2 separate regions of the Homo sapiens genome follow, and region 1 is linked to region 2. The links are contacts of gene promoters, found by promoter capture Hi-C in human tissues and cell types (Jung and others, 2019). All regions are on one chromosome and are shown on one strand. The core of a region is centred on a gene start or on the middle of the fragment in contact, and the rest is flanking DNA. Distances in the headings are between cores, read along the strand shown. Region 1 has its middle 55 kb from the start of TRA2B. Region 2 holds the start of DGKG (diacylglycerol kinase gamma).

What was found. The method cuts DNA at HindIII sites, captures the fragments that hold promoters and counts their contacts. A contact is called where the count stands out against the background at its distance.
Region 1: a contact is called between a fragment that was not itself captured here and the fragment with the promoter of DGKG in region 2, in 1 of the 25 tissues and cell types used here (dorsolateral prefrontal cortex).

Annotation. Positions count from the first base shown.
Region 1 is chr3:185,989,790-185,995,338 of GRCh38, forward strand. No RefSeq gene overlaps it. Among named protein-coding and RNA genes, the nearest start is that of TRA2B, 55 kb to the left of the region's middle. The HindIII fragment of the contact is 3,768 bases long and covers 2,295-5,549 here.
Region 2 is chr3:186,360,422-186,366,333 of GRCh38, forward strand. It overlaps DGKG (diacylglycerol kinase gamma), which reads right to left and starts at 1,813. Exons shown (of 25, transcript NM_001346.3): 1 at 1,525-1,813. RefSeq lists an enhancer at 581-1,098 and a silencer at 1,883-1,972. The HindIII fragment of the contact is 4,334 bases long and covers 1-3,888 here.

The DNA of each region.
Region 1 (5,549 bases), core at 2,929-5,428, 370 kb before region 2:
TGCGGAGTCAGCCCATTCCTTGCAGAGCATACCTAAGATTATTCGACTCCAAGGCCAATTTTCTTTCCATTGTACCATAGTGTGAATGAGCATTAGTTTTCTGTTCCCTGATTTCCCACCTACCAGCAGGAAGCAGAAAAGTGCAGAAATGGTCTTGTGCTTTTGTCCTCCTGAGAACCCAGCAGTGGTAGCTTTCCTGTAGAAACTCAGAAAGGAGAAGTTATGGGTTCATGATAGCCATGATTATAATAAAATGGTTCCAGGAAACTGAACAAACCAACAACAACAGCAACAAAACCCGAAATGGCTTGCTCTTCTTCTTATGCTTCACTTTAAGCTAAATCGGCTTTCTGATATAAAATGGCCTTCCTTTCTGTTTCAATTCTTCCATTGGCAAGTCTTGGGCAAAGGGTGGATTGACGAAGAAAGGAAAAGGGGAGCAAGTGGTCCTAAGAGCTAAGAGCTGCCCTTCTTCTTTTAAGACACCTGGTGAATATTCCCTCCTCTTGCTTGTGTTTTATTTCAGCCTGTCTTCCCCAGGGCTCCTCCAAGGTTCTGACTGGTCAGCCCACTACTACCTTGGTACTTACCCTTTTTCCAGAAAAAGAGGTATTCCTTGAGGTTACCAAATCGGTTCTCCTCAACTCTCCATCTCCAGCCAACACCTCTCACCCAACGCTGCCCTGTGTTACCCCATTTACCCCCACTACTTTTTTTTTTTGAGACAGAGTCTCACTCTGTTGCCTAGGCTGGAGTGCAATGGCGTGATCTCAGCTCACTGCAACCTCTGCCTCCGGGGTTCAAGTGATTCTCCTGTCTCAACCTCCCAAGTAGCTGGGATTGTAGGTGCCCACCACCACAGATGGCTAATTTTTGTATTTTCAGTAAAGACAGGATTTCACCATGTTGGTCAGGCTGATCTTGAACTCCTGACCTCAAGTGATCCACCCACCTCGGCCTCCCAAAGTGCTGGGATTACAGACGTGAGCTACCACCAGTAACTTCTATAAAGCTCAACAAGGGTAAAGTCAAGGGCAAATCTCCTCCCTCAAACCAACTTCTTTCTTTCTTCTCATCTTTAACAGGGCCACTGCCAGCATCCAGGAGCCCAGGCTTGCAGTCAACGACTCTTCCTTTCCCATTAACTCCCATAGTCTGTCATTCACAAATTCCTATTTGTCCTTTCTTCCAAATGCCTCTTGCATTTCTTACTTTTCTCTCACTCCCTCTATCTTCATCCTAGCCCAGAGCCTGCCCCTGGGCTGGTATCCCCATAGACTCTTCCTTTTCTAAACTATCATTCTACTCCATTCATCTATTCCTTCATTCATCAGAAGAGCATCTGTGGAGCACTTAGTGCCAGACACTGCGCTAGACACTAGATGCACCCGTAACACAGACATGGTCCAGCTGGGGAGGCAGGTAATTGACAGGCAACTACAGTGTCTTGGGGTGAGTGTGATGATGGAGGAAGCCCTTAGCTGGGACCGTAATCCAGATGGAGAGACGTGTTGGGGAGGCCTACACACTCCTACTGGTTTCATTGTCCTAAACACTTTTATCCTGTTTCAACTAAAATTGACCTTCTCTTACTTTTGTTCCTTTGGGTTCAAACTTTGTAACCTGAGATTCTAAGGCCTTCCTTGTCAACCAAGCCTCATTCCCAGGACCCTCTAGTGGAAGAGGTAGTAGTAACAATGATAGTAATAATAGCACATCTTCATTAAGCTTATTTATCTTAAATAACAGGCCCTCTTCTAAGTACTTTTCTTATGTTAACTCTTCACAACATTCTCTATGAAGGAGGTACAGGTACTATGATTAGCACCACTGACAGAAGGGGAAACCGAGGCATGAGTGCTAAAAGGCAGAATCTGGGTTCAAGTCCAGGTGGCATGGCTTCCAGGCTGGCATGTGATGATGACACCATTGTGTATCAGTGTAACCTGGCCGTGTGGACCTCAGACTCTAAATCATACATCCTAAGTTCTCCCCAAAGACCTTTTTACTCCTGATCCCCTCTCCCCTGAGAATGCCCTTCTCTTTCTTATCAAACGCTATAGAAGGTTTTATTTACATATAAAAACAGAGCCTTCTTCCATGGAAAAGGCACTGGGTCTGGACTCAGTTCGATGTTCAAATCTTGTTTCTGGCTGCCAAATCCTTTCTTCTCCCTGACTCTCAATTCTTCCATCTCTGCAATGGGAATATTACTATTCTCCTCACACAGCCATTCTGAGTATGATGTGAAAATAATGCATGTGAGTGTGCTTGGAAAACTGCAGTCCCATACAAATTTACAGGAATCAACATCATTTTTTTCCTCTGGCTTCTCAAAATAAGAATGTTGTTATACAGTCTGAACTTCACTACAGCAAAGTTTGCTTACACATTCCACTGGGCATGGGACTATCTTTCTATACCTCAACTTCATCATCTGGGCAATGGGCATAATACCAGCTGCTTTATAGAAACATTTTGGGAATTTAATGAATTTTTTTGTTTTTTGAGACAGAGTCTCACTCTGTTGCCCAGACTGGAGTGCAATGGTGCGATCTTGGCTCACTGCAGCCTCTGCCTCCTGGGTTCAAGTGATTCCCTTGCCTCAGCCTCCTGAGTAGCTGGGATTACAGATAGGAGCCACCATGCCTGACTAATTTTTGTATTTTTAGTAGACACGAGGCTTCACCATGTTAGCCAGGCTGGTCTCAAACTCCTGGCCTCAAGAGATCCGCCCGCCTCAGCTTCCCAAGTACTGGGATTACAGGCGTAAGCCACCGCGCCCCGCCAACAATAGTGTTTTAAAAGAATTAGATGCATAATAGACATTGAAGAATGTGTGTTGCCTGTCTTCCCCAAAGCTTGGTTTTTCTCTAGCTGCTGGGGATGAATCAGTTTTGGTTCTCATTAGAAGGAGCCAGTCCAGAATCATGCCTTCTCTCTTCTTCTATTCTGTTAATAAATGAATGACACCTGTATTCTTGGAGCTTCTGATTTAATTCAGCATCAACACTGAAATATTTGTTTACCAAAGAAAAATACTTTCCATGCTCCTCTGACTGTGTCATCCACATGAGCCACCACCAGCAGCCCAAAGCCAGTTCCGAAGCAGCAGAACATTTTTCGAGCAAAACAGCACTCTGTGACCCTCGGAGTGCTTGTTCAGCTGAAATTACTTGTGTCTGGCACAGACCTTCTCTTTTGATTTTGGCAGGATTTCAGGGAGTGAAAAAGCTAGGTTAGTGTTAGGGCTGGGATTAGAATTTGGTACTCAACAGATCATACTGTTAACACTTCTCCTCTTTGCTAACTTTATGAAGTTCAAGAAAAGCTTTCTGGGGAATGGCACCAATTTATTTGCCAAAAGCTGAGATGGGCCAAGGAAGATGTAGTCAGCATTTGGAATCTCCTTGCCTTAGGGTTTAACAGCCAAGGAGGGAAGAAGGATGTGCTGGGGAGCGGGGGAATAGGGGCCATGTGGGTAGTGCTGGAAGGATTCGGGATGCCGAACAGGCTTGGCTCCTTGCGGTTCCACCCCCACAACATCTCTCAAGCCATGCGCCGTCCTCTCCTCTAGCACAGCACTCTGTCCTAATCCTTATCATTCTCACCAACTATAGCAATACTCTCTGATACGCCTTCTTGCCCCTCTTGTCTGTCCTGAGCACTGCTGCCAGTTTTTATTCTTATGCTTAGAAGCATTCAAGCCTCCCCAGTGCTTGTCAAATAAGAGCCTCATCTTTAACACAATGCTCAAGGCTCCCCACAAGCAGGTCCCAAGCTCCACTTCTGCCCCCGTTTCTTCCTTCACCTTCCACGAAGACTCTGGCACCTACGAGCTAGACATGTGCCATCCCCCAGACGTGCCATGTCCATGCCAGCCTGTGAGCCTTTGCACGGACTGGTCCCTCAGCCTAGATTGTCCTCCCCTAGTTCCCATCTTTGCCTAGTAGATTCCTCCTCATCCTCGAGGACCCAGGTCAAATATCGCTTCTTCTGTGAGGCTTCTCTTAACTCTTCAAAGCAAAGCTGATGCCTCAAGCTCATCCATGGGACTTGTGTACTGCACTCTTTTGTGTCTGCCACGAGGGGACCTTGGGGACAGAACAATGCCTTATTTATAATTATGTGTCTTCTACACCACATCGAGTGCCTTGTTCAGTGTCTGTTACTTTATTTGAATTTTTGAAAGCAGATGGGACAATCTCCCTTGATACCAGGGAGAAACCACAGCAGTAAACTCAGTCTTTGGCTGTGTTAGGCTGACTGGTTCTGCTTTCTTTATTTTTATTTTTTATTTTTTTTTGAGACAGGGTCTCTCTCTGTTGCCCAGGCTGGAGTACATTGGTGCAATCTCAGCTTACTGCAACCTCCACCTCCCAGGCTCAAGCGATCCTCCCACCTCAGCCTCTGGAGTAGCTGGGACCGCAGGCGCACACCACCACACTTGGCTGGCTAATTTTATTTACTTTTAGTAAAGAAGGGGTTTCACCATGTTGCCCAGGCTCGCTTTCTTTTCTTTTCTTTTTCTTTTCTTTTTTTTTTTGAGAGAAAGTATGGCTCTGTCGCCTAGGCTGGAGTGCAGTGGCGCAATCTCGGCTCACTGTAACCTCCGCCTCCCTGGTTCAAGCAATTCTTCTGCCTCAGCCTCCTGAGTAGCTGGGATTACAGGCGCGCACCACCATACCTGGCTAATTTTTGTATTTTTAGTAGAGACGGGGTTTCACCATATTGGTCAGGCTGGTCTCGAACTCCTGACCTCAGGTGATCCACCCGCCTCGGCCTCCCAAAATGCTGGGATTACAAGCGTGAGCCACCATGCTCGGCCTCAGGCTTGCTTTCTTTAATCTCCAGAATAATGCAGTGCACTGGGTAATGGGTACTGGGTAAACATCTCCTTGTTGGCCACAGGTAACTGCTCCCTGCAAATGTCATCTCTGAGGAGATGTCCCAAGTGGCAAGGATTTTTGGCTCAATTAAGCTCCCAAGAGTTATCCCCATTATGTTAAGTTCTGGAGAGATATGCATAATTGTGACTCTGTCCCTGCCATGGAGGTCCTTACGGCTTAGTGAGGAAGATACACACACACACAGACACACACAAGGCATGAAGCTTGATGGGGTTCTCAGCTAAGCCTGGGAGCAACAGGGTAGGTTTCTTGGAGGAGGTGAAAACTGAACTGAATATTAAAGTTGTACAGGAGTTACGATGGACAAAGGCAGTGAGTATAACCAATATAGCCTCAAGCTACCATTAGCATTCAGAACTGAAAGATTATGGTGGTATAGGGAAGGGGATCAGTTGAAGAAAGATAGAGATATTGATAGAGAAGATGATATATGAGCTGGGCTTTGAAAGATGAGAGGGTTTTGGATAAATAGAGATAGGAATAGGATACAGGTTGAAAGACAATCTGGGCAAAGGAACAGTGTAAACAAAGGCATAGAGGAGGGATGTAGCTTGCTTTAAATGATCAGCTCCAAAAAGGTTATCACTGGAATATTATTTGAGAGATGAATCATGATGAGAGATGGGGCTGGAGAGAGGA
Region 2 (5,912 bases), core at 563-3,062:
GGAGTACGACCGGGAAGTTGGCTTAGTTGCAGCCGTTTTATTTAAGGAGTATAATTCATATTCGGAATGGAATCTCCAGCAAATGTAGTCTTTTAATATGACAAACAGTTAAGTACCTTCCCATGTTAGACACATGCCTGGAATGAGAGTGAGAGGGACATAAAATATAAAGGGGTGTGTGTCTGTGCCTGGGTTCATGACCAAACCTCGACATTTGCCCTCTATGATCTAATTTCCTTCATTGACAACCAGGGTGCCCTGTGTGCCAGCAAGTGGCTCTGCCAGCTGTATTTTACAGACAGAGAATCCCAAGCACCAAAATAACAAAGTTGATTCCCCCATCCAGACCAGAGGGGTCGTTTCCAGTCCTGTGTCCTGACCACTGTCTCTCATCATGACCCCTGGTGTTCACCTCCAGATCCAAAGTGTCGTCGCCAAGCCCCCAAAATAAAGGAATGACAAACAGCCCTCCCAGGCCCTCCTCCCCACAGAGAGGTCATCGTATGCTAATGAAGTCCGAGGAGGCAGCGGCGCAGCGCGGGAGAGCGCGCCCACGGGTTCACAGCGCTCCCGGGCACCACTGCGGCGCAGCCACAGATCGCTTCGCGCTGCAGCAGACGCTCCCGCCGCGGGGGGCGACTGGGGGAGGGGTCTCGACCGCCACCCTGAGTTCCGCAGCTCATCCCTCCCATCTGGGAGGTGGTTCTAGCTCTAGTCCCAAGCTTTCCACTGCAGTGATGGTGGGGATGGGGGCAGCACGTCAAATCACCTGTAGGGCTTTTTAGAACTCCACAGCCCCCTCCCCTAATTCTATTCCACTAGTTCAAACGAAGAAAATCTCAGACTAGGCAAGGGGAGGTGGACCGGTGGAGTCTGCGAAAGCACCACAGGTGACTCCGGGTACGCACTCCTCAGGACACAAGCACACACACGGACACATCTTGTGACTCTGAGACTACACAGATCAACCTCAGATTCGACCCTTCCCTCCTTTATTCTCTGAGGTGTCCGTGTTCGCTTCAGCTTCCCTTTAAGTCGCCCTGCGCAGGGGCTTTGTGGAGTGCCCCCAAAGTCCTAGAACCCCGCGGGACGGTCGGAGGCTTTGGCGGCCAGACATTAGGAAAAGCATCTCCTGCTTCTCGGACTGCCTGGAGCGCGAACTGGATATCAAGGAGCCAAGGTTAAGTCCAGAAGAAGAAGGAAATCCGACCAGTTGCTTTAGCAAACTGCCTGGAGCAAGGCCGCCTCCCACCCGCACAGCTTTGAGGCTTGAGGGGGCCTCTCAGTCGCAGAGAGAGCCGAGCCCCACCCTGTGCGTTCCCCAAGCCTGCACCCCTCGAGCGGGGCATCCCTTCCTGCAGGGCTTTGTGGCAGGTGGAACTGTCGGGGTGGGCGCCGTGGCTTTGGCTGCAGCCCCTTCCCTGGCCGCGGGACCGGCTCCCGCTTTGCCCTCCTTTACCAAGTTGCTGCACCGGGTGCTCCCTGAGCCGGGGACCCCCTCCGCCGCGCCGGCCGCCGTCTTACCTCACCAGGCAACACTTGGTTGCGCGGTGGCCCGGGGCGCTCCTTCTTCGCGGTTTATTCCCTTACTTGGGAGGAAAGAGGAACCGAGAGACAGAAGGGGGACCGAAGCTGGCCTCTGGGCGTCTTCCCGCCTGCGCAGCCCTCTCGGGGGAGGGGGATGCAGCCCCAGTGGGTGCCGCGGAGACCAGGCTGCCAGGCTGTGGTTGGTAGCGCCGGGGTCTTCACCCTGTGCTCGGAGTTCAGCAGCTCCAAAGCTGTCTATCTCCGTGGCCCGCTACTACGGCACTGCGGCTCTGTGCCCTGCCCCTCGCAGCCTGGCAAGTCCAGCTGCCACTCTCACTGCGGAGCCCTGCCCCCGGGCGCAGAGCCCGCCCCCGCCACACACACCGGCGCGCGCGCGTACACACACGGCACACACAGACACGCGCTTCCACACATGCACACGCGTGCGCACACACGAATGTGGATCCGCTCGATGGGAACCTGACCCCCTTTGGTGCAACTAGGGCGCGGGCATCATTAGGACGCTTTTTACTGACAGGGCTTCGGTTTGGGAGGAGGAGTTACAGGCTTAGGAGTGTGGAGAGGATGCAACAGTGGTGGGTACCAGAGGGCCCCTGACCCCGGAGGCAAAGGACAACTGTTTGACAAATAAATACCGACTGGGCGTTTCCTTTTCTCAACTCTGGTCAAGGCTACCGTAATATCCCGACCAAATCGAAGAAAAAATAAAAATACAAAATCAACAAGTTCTCTTTGTTTCCCAGGAACTCAGTATCTCTAGGATCCAAATCACTAGCCCTGTCCAGAGGGTCATTTCTGACAACCTTGACTTCGGTGGCAGTGGATTGGTGGCAGTTCAACTCGAAAAGGTTTTCCCCTCGTAGCCTGGTGGAGACTGGCACAGCCTGCCTGAGCTGGACTCTGTTGGATGGGTCGGGTCTCTGGGTGTGTTTAATTCCCATTCTCCTTTGCTTTTAGGTGACCTTGGACTGTATTCCTGCAGAATAAATAGATCTCTTCTTTTTTTAAAATGTAGAAGAGCACAGAAAAGACGCTGGGGTGAGGGGTCGGGGGGAATAGGGGAGCTACATTAGCCAAGGCACTATGACTTGTTGCTTCTCTTTCCATGACGTGCATGTCCACGTGAGGGGGTGATGGTGGTGGTGACACTATTTCAGGCATGTCACACAGCAAGATGACTGCTGTCCATTTCACACCACATTTAGAGTCATTAGGAGTTTAGACTGTCATCTTTAAAATATGTGGAGTTTACTCATTTCCACAGCCGAGAATTCTTTTCTGCCAGTGGGCAGTGAAGGTCCCCGGGCCAGCACTGCAGCCAAGAAAAGCTTTCCGCAGAGTGTGGAGGCGCCGAGGGGCTCTGGGTGTCTGTGCATTTGGGGAAGAAGCCTCAAACACGAATGTCAAACAGCCCTGAGGACCCTGTTGGGTGGTGTCCATACTAGGCTATCTGCAGGCAGGCTGGTGAGACAGATGAGAAACAGAGCTGAGAGATCTCCTTAAGATTCCACACAGTGATGAAGACAGAGCTGATACCAGAACCCCGTGTTTGCGACTCCTCTTATCCTCTGGGTCTTATCCATTCTATCACCCTGGGTGGCTTCTCAAAGTTTCCTTCAGCTAGGCTGAAATAATCTTGGTGAGGGTGCCTTCAAAGTTCTTCCTTGTCCTTTCTTTTTTTCCTCTTCAGTCACTGACTCATTCATTTTACAGCTATTTATTAAACTCCTACTCTGTCTTCAGGTGCTTCCCCGTAACTCCAGTCCTGGGCCTTACTTGGGAGGAAAGAAGAACTGAGAGACAGAAAGGGCTTAGAACTGTCCTCATCCCTGGAAGAGAGGAGCCCTGAGCACAGGTTTCTGGTATATATTTTCACTCTGCTAGGTTGCATGGATGTGGAAGACACAATCCTTGCTTTTTTTGACTGCATGCTCAATGGAGGAAAATGCACATACATGTCACAAGAAAAACATTCTGGCTGTCTATTCTTGACTCCTTCTAAAGAAGGCTAAACTGAAGGAGACCCTGTGTTTGGCTGAGCATCATAATGGACTTGGGGTACATGTTTGCAAATAGGTGTTAGGACAACATTGAGTTGCTCTGCCTATTAGGACAGGAAGGAAATAAATTGAATGGAACAAATGAAGAAGACATGCAGAGACTGAGTGTGGAGCCTTAGCTTCGTTGAGAGCACATTGGGGAAGGGTAACGAGAGGGGAGGAGCTCTGAGGACAGGGTTGCCAAGCAACTTGCCTGAGAACAGGCAACAGGGTTGCCAAGTTGTCCAGGGATTTGGACAGGGGAGATGCTTGCAAAGATTGGTAAGTAGTTTGCTGTGGGGTGGGCTATGAAAGCCCCCGGTCCTATGAAAGAAATCATTTGTAAAGTCAATATTGTTCATCGGTTTGCTTGCAAATGGATTCCTTTAGGATCAGGATGGAGCCAAATGATGCATCTGAGTTGCTGCAGAAGGAGTTCAGAGAAGGCTGTGTGGACTGAGTTACATGCTAATAACATGGAGGAAAAGGGTGGTAGTAGAGGCTGAAGCAATGTGGAAGGCAAAGAGGGATGGGGCGGGAAGAAGCACCAAGAACAATTAGTGCTAATGGAGGCATCATGGAGGAGGTAGGGTTTGCGATCGGATTTTAAAGGGGAATAGAGATCTCACTTAAAGATCAACAGGACAAGGGCAATCTAGGCTGGGAGAAAGCAAAAGCAGAGACGTAGGACAATTCATGGTGAGTTCTGGGTCTTCCCAGCACAAGAAAAGAAGGCTGGGACAGTATTGTGGGAGTCTCCAAATGCTCTTCTGGGAGCATAGACTTGGGTTCCACAGTGAGGAGCTATGGCAGGTGTGGATTTTTTGTTGTTTGTTTTTGATGGGAAATGAGCTGGGAAGCAAGCTGGGAAGTATCTGATGCCAGCTTTCCCAAGGTAGGCCTTCCCCATCAGAATGGAGCACTGTGGGGAGGGAGTCCTTGTTGCTGCTCTCACGAAGAGCCAGAGCCCAGGTGGCTTATGTGGCTTGCTGCAGAGGGCACCCAGCTAAGGGGCTGAAATCCAACTCATGCCCCACTTGCCCAGCCACACAACCTGTTAGGGTTATGTCTGCCTGGAGGGAGGGATGCCTTTTCTCTAATTTGCATGGGCTGACAGAGGCCCTGCAACTGAGCTCTTTATTTGAAAAGGCTGAAGCTACGGTGAAACAAGTGAGGATTTATTGGGCATTTGCTGTATGTGCAAACATAAGGTAAAGCAGAAAGAGTCTTGAGGTCAGGACTATCTGTGAGTCTGAGCATGTCTCTGCTCTGTGGTGACACCCTGAGACTTACTGTAGGGTACAGAGGAGGAAGCTTAGTGCCTCTCCTCAAAGATTTTGCAATCCATGTCAGTTATAAAACAAACGCTCCACTGGTTAAGAAACAGTGAACGACAGTATGGAATCAAGTGCCAAATTGCACAGGGCAGATTCTCAGGGCTTGAGAAAGGAGACCTCCTCTGGGCTGAAAGAGTCAAGGCAGGCTTCATGGAGGAGGAGGGCTGGGTTTGGCAGTGGAGCATGTGTATGTTGGTTCTCAGCCAGAGAAAAGACCTGCGAACAAAAAGCCAGAGGAAACGAAGCTGGGGGCTTCTAAGCATGGATTTTTAGCCGCCACAGCCACCCTAATGCCATTCCCAATTGTAGCCCAAGCGCTGTGATGAGTCACCCTTGTTTCTGAGAGACGGGGCATTTTTGGATGTTTAACTGGTTCAACACTTTACATTCCCTGAGACTTCAATGTTGGCAGCTCACACTCACCATGTTGCTCTGGGAACACATCATCCAAGCCAGCAGCTGATGCCTGATCTCCACTGCCAAGGCAAAGCGAGGGCTGAGTCAGGTACCTGTGTCTGGAAATTTTTAGTCCCACTGTCTCTGACAAGCTGAGCGAACAGCACTTGACAGTTGGAGCACAGCTGAGTTCAGGGTCACCAACCGCAAGGTGGGCCGGGGGGGTTCTGCTCGCCTTCTTAGGCCTCACTTTTCCCATGTACAGAACACAAAGGATTATACCAGATTATCTCCAAGCTGTCTTCCACCTAATATTTTATGATCTCATAATTAATGGAATCTTTCCATGTTATCAAGCAATGACAGGATGGGAACAGATACTAGCCAAGTCCGAACCTTAACTTTCCTCTTGGTTTTGACTGTGAAGGCTGTGGTGGAGTGAGACTGTGGGTTGGAAACAGGAGAACCAGGAGCTCCTGGTCACAGTTTTGCCATGAATGGGATTTGGGATCCAGCCCTGGGAATGTAGGCAGGAGATTCCCTCATTTTAGTTTTCTTAGAAAATAAGGAGGCTGGAAATGGTCCCTACAAC